Linked DNA regions of Homo sapiens: regions 2 and 3 are each linked to region 1. The links are contacts of gene promoters, found by promoter capture Hi-C in human tissues and cell types (Jung and others, 2019). All regions are on one chromosome and are shown on one strand. The core of a region is centred on a gene start or on the middle of the fragment in contact, and the rest is flanking DNA. Distances in the headings are between cores, read along the strand shown.

Evidence for each region. The method cuts DNA at HindIII sites, captures the fragments that hold promoters and counts their contacts. A contact is called where the count stands out against the background at its distance.
Region 2: a fragment that was not itself captured here is called in contact with the fragment with the promoter of CDH4 in region 1 in 2 of the 25 tissues and cell types used here (H1 embryonic stem cells and spleen).
Region 3: a contact is called between a fragment that was not itself captured here and the fragment with the promoter of CDH4 in region 1, in 2 of the 25 tissues and cell types used here (H1 embryonic stem cells and dorsolateral prefrontal cortex).

What each region holds. Positions count from the first base shown.
Region 1 is chr20:61,250,577-61,254,889 of GRCh38, reverse strand. CDH4 (cadherin 4) reads right to left here and starts at 2,629. Exons shown (of 16, transcript NM_001794.5): 1 at 2,320-2,629; 2 at 1-64. The coding sequence starts at 2,376. RefSeq lists an enhancer at 1-525. The HindIII fragment of the contact is 10,940 bases long and covers 1-4,313 here.
Region 2 is chr20:60,942,938-60,947,351 of GRCh38, reverse strand. No RefSeq gene overlaps it. Among named protein-coding and RNA genes, the nearest start is that of LINC01718, 130 kb to the left of the region's middle. The HindIII fragment of the contact is 6,910 bases long and covers 1-4,414 here.
Region 3 is chr20:60,855,485-60,859,997 of GRCh38, reverse strand. No RefSeq gene overlaps it. Among named protein-coding and RNA genes, the nearest start is that of LINC01718, 220 kb to the left of the region's middle. The HindIII fragment of the contact is 6,282 bases long and covers 1-4,408 here.

The DNA.
Region 1 (4,313 bases), core at 1,380-3,879:
TGTAATCATCTTCAGAGAACCCAGCCTTGCAGGTCTCTCTAGTTGTAAGATCCTCATTATGGGCCTGAGAACACAAAGGGGAGAGTGTAAAACAATAAGTTCACAGAAATTTAATCCAACCAACATTCATCCAGGGCCTGCTGTGTAAAAGGTCTCTGGCTAAGAGAGAAAGGCTGGCAGGCCACCGTCTCCACCCAGACGCGATACCCCGTCTGCTCCTCTGCTCTCTGGGGACTTTAGGGAGCACTCTCCAGGCTACAGACCAGGAGCATCCTTCCCCAGCCCCACACACAGCAGGCAGGGAGTGAAGGACGGACTGTTGGGGAAGCCAGGCCGGCCAGGGCCTTATTGGCAGAGGAGACGCCTGAGAAATGACCAAAAGGCAGAGACAGAAGACTTCAGCCGCTGCTCCCGAAGCCACTAAGGGCAGGGAGGCCAAAGTGTGGGCGGCTCTGCTCAGACCATTCGCGCTTTAGGCCCACCGCTCTGCGCTCTTGGTAAGGCGGAGGAGGCAGCTTCTTGTCTCCTCTCCAGGTCACCGGGAGGGAGGAGAAAGAGGAGAGAAAGGAAGAAGATTCTCTAGGACTAGGTCCGGAGCCGGTCGAAGAAGGCAGCTCTGCGGGAGGCTGCCGGTGGCTGGGGTGAGGAGGCAGTGGGGGCGCTTCCACCTTCTAGTCTTCAGCCCGCATTTTCACCCTCGGAGCCCCCATCTCCAGCCCAGGCAGGGAGACGGCTCCCCTAACTGACCGGAAAGGGGGTCTCCTCCTGTCCTCCGGAGCTCGCTCGCCTTTCCTGCTCAGTGGGGAAGTCTAGAGCCCATGGCACAGGGCCAGGGAAGGATGGGGTGGACGACAGGGCCCTCCGACCAAGCTTCTGGGAGGGGGCGTGACAGGCAGGAGGAGGTGGTGGAGGGAGAGGCAGTGTGTGCAAGCGGGAAGCCAGCCCCGCTGAAGGAGCAGGAGCACAGCGGTGCTTGGCTCCCCGGCGAGCGCAGGAAGCCTCGGGTGCAGCCCGCACCGGGCAGTGGCGCCTCCCGCCCGCCGCCTCCTCCAGCTCCGCGCGCTGCCGTCGCCCGCCCATGCTTCGACTCCGGAGGCCGCCCCCAGCCCGGAGCTCCAGGCTTCCCGACGCCGGCACCGCGGAGGGCGCCCCTCTACCCCCAGCACCGAGGGAGGAGAGCGGGACGCAGGGTCATTCCTTACGAAAAGCTCTAAACCGCGGCTTTCTTCATCGGCCACGAAGCTCCAAATCGCACCCGCAGCCCGGTGGGAGGCTCAACTCGCCCAGGAAAGTTTCCGCCCGCCCGAAGCGTGTGCCCAGCGCGTCCCCCAGCGCCCCGCGGCCTCGGAGCGGGCCTCCCGCCGCTGGCACTTGTTTATTTCCGAGGTTACAACAGCGCTGCCCGGGAGAAGGCAGCGAGGCCGATCGGCCACGAGAGGGGGTTCCTGCAACTCCCGCCGCCCCTCCGCCTCCGCCCAGGGGCGCCCCCGGAGCCGCCGCGCTCTCTGCCCCCGCGGGCCGCGCACCTCGCCAGGCGCAGAGCAAAGCTGGCAATCCGGCCCGCGGGGCTCTGCAGAGGCAGCGGGAGACCCGCTCGCCCTCCCGGGGCGCCCTCCCGCGCCGCGCCCGCCCGGCGTCCGGCTTCCCGGCCCAAGCCCGGCCCAGCTCCCAGCCCCCGGGGCCCCGCCGGACACGCAGGCTCCAGCCCCGCCGAGGGCTCGGGGGTGAGAGTGCCCCGCAGTCCTACCCCGCCGCCCACCCGCAGCGCGGGTCCTGCCGGCACCCACAGAACTGAGCGGCGCCGCTAGACGGACCCCCAGGCCTTGGGCAGGAGAGGTCGGGCAGGCGCCCCGCACTCGCGGATCCCTGGCCCGCAGCCGCCGGGCGCCCCACGCCTTCAGCCACGGCCGGGGCTGGGCTCGGCAACTCCCGCGGCGCGCGGCTCCCGGGCGATGGAGGGCGCGCCGGCTCCGCCAGTGGAAGCCTGCCCCATGCAGGCAAGCCGAGCTCCGGGTAGCGGCTACGGGCTTTGGGCGTTCGAGGGAGGCTCGGCGGGTCCGGTGCAGGCGGAGCTCCCCGGGTCCTCCACCGAGCCCCACTCCCACCCTGCTCCGCCGCTCCCCGCTGCCCAGGCGGCTTCCCGCTCCTGCCGACCGCAGGCAGCTTCGCCGAGCGCGGGCGCCGGGCTGGATGCAGCGGGGAGCGCGGCGGGGGAGCCCGGGAGAGCCCCGCCGGGTGTGTGAGCGCCCCGCGGGATCCGGGGACGACCTCCCGCTGCCCGGGGCTTCCGAACGGCGGGGGCGGGAGGCGGCAACTTACCCGGAGCGCGCCGGAGAGCGAGAGCAGCAGAAGGAGCACGCCGGCGCCCGCGGTCATCTTCCCCGCCGCCCGCCCGGTGCCCGGCACCGGGAGCCCGCTCCCTGCCGCCGCCGCCGCCGCCGCCGCCGAGACCACCGCCGCCGCTCCGATCGCCGCCGCCGCCGCCGCTCCCCCGCGCCTGCCCGGAGCCTCCAGCCCCGCTGCGCCCGCCGCGCTCGCCGCCCCGGCTCCGGGAGCCAGGCCAAGTCCGGCCGGCGGCGCGTTCCCTCGGGCCGGTGCGTCCGCCGGCCTCGCAGCCGCCCGCGCCTCTGTTCCGCGCGCTCGGAGCTGCAGGTGAAGCCGCGGCCGCCCCGCCGAGGCCCCGCCCCGCCGCCCGGCCCCTGCGCTCGCTCTGCCGACGCGGGCCTTAAAGGCGCAGAGCCCGCGCCCGCGCCCCCCGCGCCGCACCAGCCCAGCCTCTGCCCTCCTGGACGTCTGGAGCCGCCCGGTTGCGGCCGAAGAGGCCAAGGACGCTCGTTTTCCAGGGGAAAAAGGCGCGGGTGTGGAGACTGAAGACAGCGCTGGGGTTTCCGCCCCCACACCCGGGGCACCCTTTCTGGATGGGGCGGTCCCGCCGCGGTCTTAGTCCGACTTCCCGCCCGGGCCCGCGGTGGGAGTGTGCACTTCCATTCTGTCCTTTTATTTTTCAGGTGTCTCCTTGCTAACTCCCCTGACCCGGGCTTGAACCCAGGTCGGGCAGCTCAGGGGTGAGAGTTTCCACCTGGAGCAGATGAGCAGAGGGCCACGCTGAGATTTCAGCCTGTGGGGCTTTGCAGACCCTCCCGCTCCTAGGAAAACTCAAAGCCCTGGCCTGGGCTAGGGATGTACCCTAGGATTGGGGACGGTAGTAATTCCTGTGTGTGCATCAAAACACCCTGTTAGGCCTCAGAAGCCAAGAAAGAAATTAGAAGCTCCAAGAAAGAAAGAAGTGCCCAGACAGGAGCTGTCAGGAGTGTCTGCGCCGACAGGCTGGGCCAGCTCCAGCTCCCTTTGCCCTGCATGGGTGATGGCTGAACTGGGGGGCACTTCTTTAAGGGTTATCAGGTAAAATATATGTACAGGTCGGACAGTGAGTAAATGTTTCTGCACTTTTCCTTTTGGCTTGGAGATTTAAAGAAACGCGGTTTTGTTTGTTCAGATACATCGAATTTTCTTTGTCTGGGGTTTCAGGGACTCTGTGTCCAGAATACATTAGTTCTGGTTTAAGAAATAGGTTGCAAAGGAGAGGGTGGAAGATTGAGTGACACTGTTGAGCTCCAAGATCAGAGTCCACTTGGGCAAGCCAGTAGAGAAAGCTACAGAGCAGCCGCTTCCCTCTCTCCCTCCCAGAACCCCCACCCTTGGGGGCAGGGTGGTCTCCCGGTTAGAGCTCTGCCTTACGCTTAAGGAAACCAGATTTTAGATAACCCCAGAGGACCAGAGTAAGCACTACATCCGAGAGCACAAGGCGAGATTCGGTTTTGCAACTTAACTATGGAACTAGTCAGGAGACACAAAATCTGCCCCAGCCTGGACTCCTATCAGTTATGGCCTTGTCCCACTCCCCACCTAGCCGAAGAAGGAGAGGTTACCAGTTGACATGGCTGGAGGTTTAGACTCACTCGAAGGTCCTGCGTAGCCAGTGAGGTTTCATGAACAGATCCATCCAAAATCCTCATGGACAGAGAATTCCATTCCTCGGCCATGTGCCCGTCCTTTGGGAAGACGCCCCCTCTGCTTTCCTCCTTATTCAAGGTGCTTCACCACTGCTCGAGCGACATCAGAAGCTGTCCAAGACTGCTTTAGACACCAAGACAGCTCTCTTGTCTTGTGTCCCTGGTCTATTTTCTTAAAATATCTGTCGCTGGGGATACACCTTTGTCTGCAGGAGGCCTGAGCATTATGCGAGTTATTTCTTTGGAGAGGCATCACAGACCCCCGCATTTGCTCCAACGTGCTCTGCGAAACTGTTGAAG
Region 2 (4,414 bases), core at 163-2,662, 310 kb after region 1:
AGCGAGCTGAGATCAAGCCACTTCACTCCAGCCTCGCTACAGAGCGAGACTCAAAAAAAAATATATATATATATTTTTTTTTCTAAGATATAATTTAGACACAGTTCAACTCAACCTTTTCAGTATGCAGTTCTGTGAGTCTTGACGAATGTGTACAGTCATGTAACTAGCACCACAATCAAGATACAGAACATTCCATCCCCCACCCAGCCCCTGGCAATCTCTGATCTAGTTTCTGTCTCTGTCATTTTGCCTTTTCCAAGATGTATGTCGTATACATTGAACCATACAGTATGCAGTGTTTTGGGGCTAGCTTCTTTCAAGTAGCGTAATTCACCTGAGATTCTTCCTTGATGAATCAAGAGTTCTTTCCTTTTATTTCTGACCTCTATTTTGGGCCACCATTTGTCTTTCAGTTCCCCAATTAAGAGACATTGGTATTGTCTCCAGTTTTTGGAGATGTTTAATAAAGCTGCCACAAACATTTACATGCAGCCTCTTGTGTGAACAGGGGTTTTTTAGTTTTACTCCAATAAAGTCTTAGGAATGTGGTCCTGAGTTACGGTAAGTTTAACTTTATAAGGAACTCTTAACTATCTTCCAGAGTGGCTGTGTCATGATATGTCACTCATCCCATCAGCAAGGAGTGAGGGCTCCTACTGCCCCTCATTCTCCCCAGCATTTGGTGTTACAGTGGGATTTTCTTTTAAATTTAACCATTCTAATAGTTGTAGTGGTATCTTATTGTGATTTTAATTTGCGTTTTCCTAGTGACTAATGATGTTGAGTATCTTTTCATATGTTTATTTTTCAATTGTACATATTCTTTGGTGAAGTGACCACTCAAACTTTTGTTTTTCTGGCTTTTATTTATCTTACATATTGAAGAGCATTCTAAGGTTTTATTGAGAGGAAAATAGACAGTATGAGAAAAATTACAAAGCCAATAAAACAGATCAGAGTACAGGTAGAAACATGACCTTGCAATGCTGCGTCTACCGCCTTCTCCAAAATTCCACACTGAGGAATATGTCCAGCTTATTTTGGGATAATAGCATTGGTATTGTTACAGGATCGTTGGGGTGTCGCTTTTCTGGGCAGAAATCTCTGTGGCCAGTGGCACCTTTTCCCGAGTTCTTGTCCTGCGTTCAGGAAGAATGAGGTATGCAGACAAGTGGAGGGTGAGCAAGACAGAGAAGCTTATTGAGTGTTAGAACAGCTCAGGGGAGACTTACAATGGGTAGCTCCTCTTTGTATGCAGGTCATCCCATCAAGTGTTCAGCTCGCAGCAGAGACTCTGGAGAGGGTGGCTCTTCTCCACCATCAGGTTGTCCCCATCATCTCTGCAGCCATCATCTGCAGTGGTCTTCCCACTCCTGTCTGCTGCTGGTCATCCTGTCATCTCTCCATTCTCTGCCTGCTCTGGTAAAGCCCAGGGCTTCTATGGACCACAGAGGGGAGAAAGTGTGTGCCAGCCGGCTCATGGGCAGCCATGGGAGGACACAGAAAAGGCACCACAAGTCTTCATTCCAGTCCATGGGATTGGCTTTACCAGGGACCCATCCCCTTCTGCCCAGGAACCTATCTGCCTTCTGCTGCCATTCATGATGCCCAGGTTTTGCCCCAACTTTTCTGAGATTGGAGCAGACACCAACAGCAGAAAGCAGCCAGGCAGTGGGAGCAGGCACTTCTGAGCCTGCAAGGGCAGGGGGCCTTCCCAGGCCAATGGGGCAGTGGCCTGGGTCTGCAGGCAGTTTGGGCAGCTGCAGCGGCACCCAGGGAGCTCCCACCCCAACTCAGAAGGGATGGGGCTCCCGCTGGCTCCATGGGGCGTGCAGCCCAGGCAATGCCTCCCTGCTGCAGCCAACGTGATGGCAGTGACAGGCTGTCTGGAGCAGCAGCTGCCATCAGTATGGCAGGCACCCCCCAGAACAAAGGCCACAATGCTGGTCACTTTCAACTCCATTCTCCACGCTATACTTAAAGAAAGCAATTGGTAACTGATCATTGCTGTTTTGCAGAAGACCATAGAGCTTTAATCATGCCAATTGACTTCATATTATTTAAGTTACAAATAATGAACAACTGATGTTAGTTACTTAATAAACACTTGTTGAATACATATAAAATGCAGTCCATGCTCACTGGTTTTGGGAAACCAAAATCTATGTATTGAAAGAGAGAATTAGGCCAGGCACGGTGGCTCATGCCTATAATCCCAGCACTTTGGGAGGTTAAGGTGAGTGGATCACTTGAGGTCAGGAGTTGGAGACCAGCCTGACCAACATAGTGAAACCCCGTTTCTACTAAAAATACAAAAATTAGCCAGGCATGGTGGGGTGTGCCTGTAATCCCAGCTACTCAGGAGGCTGAGGCAGAAGAATTGCTTGAACCTGGGAGGCCAATGTTGCAGTGAGCCAAGATCACGCCACTGCACTCCAGCCTGGGCAACAGAGCAAGACTTCATCTCAAAAGAAAAAAAAAAAAGAGAGAGAGAGAGAGAGAATTAAAAACAAACGTTGACACTTACTATTGAAAATGGGCACTAAGAAGTTTGATAGGATGCAAGTTTACAGAGGTTACAAGGTTCTACTTGGGAGAAGAAGGGTTTGAGTTGGACGCAGAAAGATGAATAGAAATACGACTAGTAGAGAAGACAGTGAAAGAGAACCCAAGCTGAGAAAGAGATGTCTGAAAGATGATGGGTTGTGCAGTGTGGAGCAGGGGAGACCATGCTCTTCAGAGCAGAGGCCGAGACTGAGAGCAGTGTGATGATGTCAGTAGTGGGAGCTGAAGTTAGAAAGCCAAGCAAAGGAGAGTCCCACGATAGAGGGGCACTGTATTGTGAATAGGGGCTGCTTTTGGTTTGACCAGGTTCTATACTTTCTATGGTCTGCACCTGTTTTGGCAAAAGACTGGGATCACTGGGGTCAGCTTGGCAAATACTCCTGGTACATAAAATGCTCACCTGTCAGCTTTTGTTAATAGGAAGACCTCATGCCAACCAGAAATTTTCCTTTATTTATTTATTAGTTTATTTATTTATTTATTTTGATACACAGTTTCCCTCTGTTACTTAGGCTGGAGTGCAATGGGACCATCTCGCCTCACTGCAACCTTCACTTCCCAGCTGCAAGCCATACTTGTGCCTCAGCCTTCAGAGTAGCTGGGATTACAGGCATGCGCCACCATGCATGGCTAATTTTTGCATTTTTAGTAGAGATGGGGTTTCGCCATGTTGTCCAGGCTGATCCCAAACTTCTGACCTCAAGTGATCCATCCACCTTGGCCTCCCAAAGTGCTGGGATTACAGATATGAGCCACTGTGCCCGGCCTCAACCAGAAATTTCTAAGAATTTATCAGAAAAATCAGCTCAAACTAAGAATTTTGAGATGTTGGGCAAGAAAAGAAAAATTCTCAGGCTTAGCTAATGAAGAGGATGAACATGGAACTCTCGTTAACTGACCTAATTACTGTACAAATTTTCCTAATTGTATACCTTAAGAACTACATGCCAGTGTCTGCAGTTAAACCATTTTTGCTTTAGATTTTTTGAATACTTCTCAAGTTCCTTAAATATCTCCACTTAAGTTTCTTTTATTGAACAAGCAACCCATATGTGCATTGATTAGACTGCAACAGAAACAGACCCTCTTTCAGCTGGTTGGGGAAACTAAATCTATTTGCCAAGACTAAATCCATGGTCTGTCCAATGACCAAGTCCCCCAGGAGTTTCTCTGTGTGGGCCGACATGAGACAAGTCTATGGCTGGGTTTTTATCTCTTAAAGCCAAGATGTCATTTATGGGCTGTACAGCTGAGAAACATGCAACAACAGGGCCATGAACAAAAAGCACAACATTGGTCTCTTGCTCTACAAGAAGACTTCTGGAGCACCTCTCTCATCCTGTGGTTCATGCCCTACCACCGCTGCCCTACCCTGCAGTCACAGCGATATGTGCCTTCTGCCTCCAAAGCTCCTGTGTGCTCTTGGTTTCTGGCCTCTATTCATACACCTGGCTGCTACTCTGATATTACTATGAAAGCTTTGCTTAGTTGTGTCTGTAGAGGTGTACGGAAGGGACATTCCCAGATCACTTTAGTGGCACTGGGTTACAAGGATAGTCTTGTAGTTGCATGATTAATCTGTGTTTCAGAAATTCAAAAACTGAGACTTACAGCAGCCCCATTGCAAATCAGAAGATTAGAGTACAGTTGCTAGGAGTAGGTGTGGAGCCCCCAAAGCTTGTCCTCTTGGGAACACCTAGCCTTTAAACTTCCAAAGGAATATCCAATTAATAGATGAGTCACCATCCATGTGGCCTTCTCTATTTGTGCAGAGGCCACTTCAGAGCTTCCCCACTTCCAGCCCTTAGAGGATGAACTTCATCTCAGGCAGTGGTCTTGATGCAGG
Region 3 (4,513 bases), core at 18-2,517, 390 kb after region 1:
ATTATTTCATTATATATTACAATGTAATAATAATAGAAATAAAGTGCACAATAAATGTAATGTGCTTGAATCATCCCGAAACCACCCCCCTCCCTGGTCCATGGAAAAAATGGTCTTCCACGAAACTGCTTCCTGGCTCCAAAAAAGGTTGGAGGCCCCTGCTCTAGGTCATTCCCATATGGCTTCAAGTTATTGCTTGTGTATAAAGACACTGGAACTGTGACATAGTGACAATGCATTATGATTGGTGACAGGAGGATGAAAAAACACACTCAAGAACTGTAATCAGAGGTGCGGTACTTAAGGTAAGACTTTGGGATCATTTCAAAATATTGGAAAATATGTGCATTTTCACGTTTGAAATATTTAGATTATATGCGTAACTTCATGATTTCTCATCTTGACTGATTTTTCAACTAAGCTACTGGCAACTGTTTCCTATAGAGTCAGGTAAGAGGGCTGGTGCTGGATAATGCCTCCTTCTCTGAGCTTTAGGGAGAATAACATAAGGCAATGCAGGGGAAATTACTAGCCCAGCCCTTGGTGGGTATGAGCACTTCCGAAACTGCTCTGACGACGATGTTGCTGTTACCTTTGTGTTCATGGCGAGCTCCTTCGCGACCTTTTTGGAAGGGGCATGACTCCCTTGGAGGGATGCCCTAGCTGCAGGGTTGCTGGCCATTTGGTAAATAAGAGCAGCCTCCTTGTCTGAACTCAGACATGTCATTCCTGGTCAATTTCTTCCTGATAGTGGTACAATAGAGGTCCACACACATTCTGCTTATAACAGAAAATGTACACCTCATAAAGTTAAAAGCTTAACACCAAATAAAAAGTAAAACCTAAGTAGAAAAAGAGGAGAAAAAGGCACACAGCTGACTGAATAAAGTGATGAATTGTGTGACATGCACTGTGAGCTTTCAGAGAGGAAGTTGGGCATTTTTTTCCCCCAAGAGAGTTTGTTTTTATGTACTTTCTTCTTAGAAGCAAAGAAACCTGGAGCCACATCTTTTCTTTTTTTATTTTATTTTATTTTATTATTATTATACTTTAAGTTTTAGCGTACATGTGCACAATGTGCAGGTTAGTTACATATGTATACATGTGCCATGCTGGTGTGCTGCACCCATTAACTCGTCATTTAGCATTAGTTATATATCCTAAAGCTATCACTCCCCCCTCCCCTCACTCCACAACAGTCCCCAGAGTGTGATGTTCCCCTTCCTGTGTCCATGTGTTCTCATTGTTCAATTCCCACCTATGAGTGAGAATATGCGGTGTTTGGTTTTTTGTCCTTGCGATAGTTTACTGAGAAGGATGATTTGCAGTTTCATCCATGTCCCTCCAAAGACGTGAACTCATCATTTTTTATGGCTGCATAGTATTCCATGGTGTATATGTGCCACATTTTCTTAATCCAGTCTATCATTGTTGGACATTTGGGTTGGTTCCAAGTCTTTGCTATTGTGAATAATGCTGCAATAAACATATGTGTGCATGTGTCTTTATAGCAGCATGATTTATAGTCCTTTGGGTATATAGCCAGTAATGGGATGGCTGGGTCAAATGGTATTTCTAGTTCTAGATCCCTGAGGAATCGCCACACTGACTTCCACAAGGGTTGAACTAGTTTACATCTTTTCATGCGGACATTTACATCATAATCACTCTGAGTTTCTTGCTAGGATAGATTGTGTCCACTGCCACACCTCTAAAGAGGACGGATTTGGGAGGGAGTGGTCCTGGAACATACTTGCATAGAATGCTCCAGTAAGTATGTTCACTCTGTGTCATATAAACTCACCAAAGGCACGGTTACAGGACCTCCAGGTTCCTGGGCCTCCTGTGAACTAACAGACCAATCCACCAAGGCAGCAAGGTTTACAGCAAAGAAAGAGATTAATGATCACATGACAGCCGAGGGAGGAGACAGGAGGGAACCTCAAGTCTGTCCCCCCGAGGGGCTTTAGGCTGAAAGTTTTCAGGGAATCATGGAGGGTGAGAGGCAGGAAAATTGGGACCATTGATTGGTTGGAGTCCAGGGTATGAAATCATCAGGATGTGGAAACTGCATTCATTCTTCCATGAGTCAGATTCCTGTGGGGCCCTTCAGGCCAGCTGACATCAGTCATTTCACTGATGCAGGAAATGAAAGAAGACCTCAAATGGAAAATGGAACATTTCACCATGCTTACGTTGTTATCTACAGAGCAGGATCTCTGTGATTCTGGGGCAACAGGTAGCAAACGACGATGGGGCAGTGGTCAGAGAGTGAGCTGTCCTAATAACGAATGCTGAGTGTGCTACAAGCTTCGTTTGTGTTAATTTCCCCCCTCCCTTCTGCCCTGATTAATTTTATAGTTTATGGAGATGGCTTCAGCACCTGCCCCTGCAAGGCCATCTTGATGTCAGTCAACTGGACACTAGAATCCTCTGTTTGGAAGGGGGCAGATCAGTCTTTCTTCCTCTTGTTTCCCTGGACCTGAGGTGAGATCTCAGAGTTCTGGCTTCACAGGAGAATAAAGAAAATGTCATTCTTCCAATCTAGGCCTGTCACCTGCAGATGATGGGGGCTTTCCATTGGTGGAACTTTTTCTCTTTTTCATGTCCCAGCCTCTTCTTCAAAGTGACCACCTAGCTTGCAGCTTTGACTTTGAAAATGAAAGTGTGTCCCTGAGTCACACTGATATGTGCTGATATTTAAAAAAAAAAAAGATAAAAAATAAGAATAAAAAAACATAATACTCTTTGCAATATTTCACATTCAAGCTTTCTCAGAATTAATTTGAAAAAAAGAATCACCCAGTCTCTCACAACAATATTGCAGAAAACCCAAAGTGTTTCATTTCACGGTTAATTTATTTTGTAATTATAGATCTGTTGGTAAACAGTACAATAATATTTTTTTTCATTTCACTGATTTGTGCTGTTGATGCCCTGGATGCTTCACTGTGGTGTGATAGCTGTGCATGGAAGAAGCTGCCTAACCACATTAATTCAAATAAAATTATCTGCGCTTCACATGTACACGCAGACAGTGTTTATGCGTAATCAGAACTTCTAGGAAGGCTTTTTTTAAGAGGGAAGAAAATGCATATAATCTATTTTTATTTTTAATTAAAAATACAAGTTAAAAAGCAATATTAAATCTCTATACCTGATTTTAAGAAATTACATTAGCACAAATATTTTCATTTCCTATCTTGAGATTTATGTGCATATATATTTAAAAAGATAAATAAATAGCTATCAACATTTTTATCACAGCAGTTTATTTTTTAATAATATTTTTACAATCATGAGCGCCACTCAGATAATTGAACACAGAAAAGAACACACATACATACACAAGAAAAAAAAGAAAGAAAAGTACCCAACAACAGGTTAGCAATTCTTGTTCTCTGGGAGTTTGGAGTACAGCTGTGTGTTTGTGTGTGTGTGTGTGTGTGTGTGTGTGTGTGTGTGTGTGTGTGTGTACATACTTTCTTACAAAGTTAGTGTGTACACTGTTTTCTGGCATGCTTTATTTCACTAGTGGGATGTAATAAAATGATTTCCATGCTGACCAACATTGCTCTGTGGTTCTTCCAGGCTGCCTGGTTGTCCATCCAGTTGATGGAGCATCATTCTCTGAACTGGGCCTCTGTTGTTGGACACTTGTATCCAATTCTGACTCTATTGCAGATTGTGAGTGCATGCTTTTCACGCTGCAATTTTTATGAGCATGCCATCTTGCATTTTTACTTTTTTATAGCTTTTATATCGTCAACTTAATGAATAGATCAAATTCTTTTATTTCAACATACATCGTTTCTGAGGGCATTTCCTAATAATTTCAGTTATGTATAATTTTTACTGTTAAGGACAATGCTGCAGATAATGATTTTGGTGTACACATGCATACATATGCATTTTTTTTTGTTCTGTTGAATTATTTATTGGGCATAGTTGTCAAGTAGTGAAATTTCTGAGTTACAGGTTCTGATCAACTTGAGAGCACTTGGTTTGCAGTACCCATTTTTTTCCCAAATATTTTATTCTATGTTTATAATGGAGGGATCATCTACCTTCATAGCAAGCTAAATATAATTGAGTGGTATCATTATTTTTAAAATATAAGTTATTTTTTAATCAGTGGTTTTAAGTTCAGTTGTTTAGAAGTTCAATACAAAGAATGGGATATGGAAGGCATTTAGTATAAGTAAGTTGTCTGAAGTTTCCCAGACTCAGCTCTCTGAAACATAAACTGGAAGCTTGTTTGAGATGATACTTTAAGTTTCTTCATAACCTGAAGATTCTATCTACAAATGCTATTTTAAAACTATTTTTAGTTTAATGGAGGTACTTACTCTGCTGAGATTAACAGGAAAGCATCAGTGCTGTCTGCATTCGGATGATACTTCAGGCCAGGGCTCAAGAAACCCTGGCTCTCTTTTTGCTGAGGATGCCCTGTGGCTGCGCTATGGACCTTGGGAGCTGCAGACAGCAGCAGCAAGCAGGATGCATGTGCTGC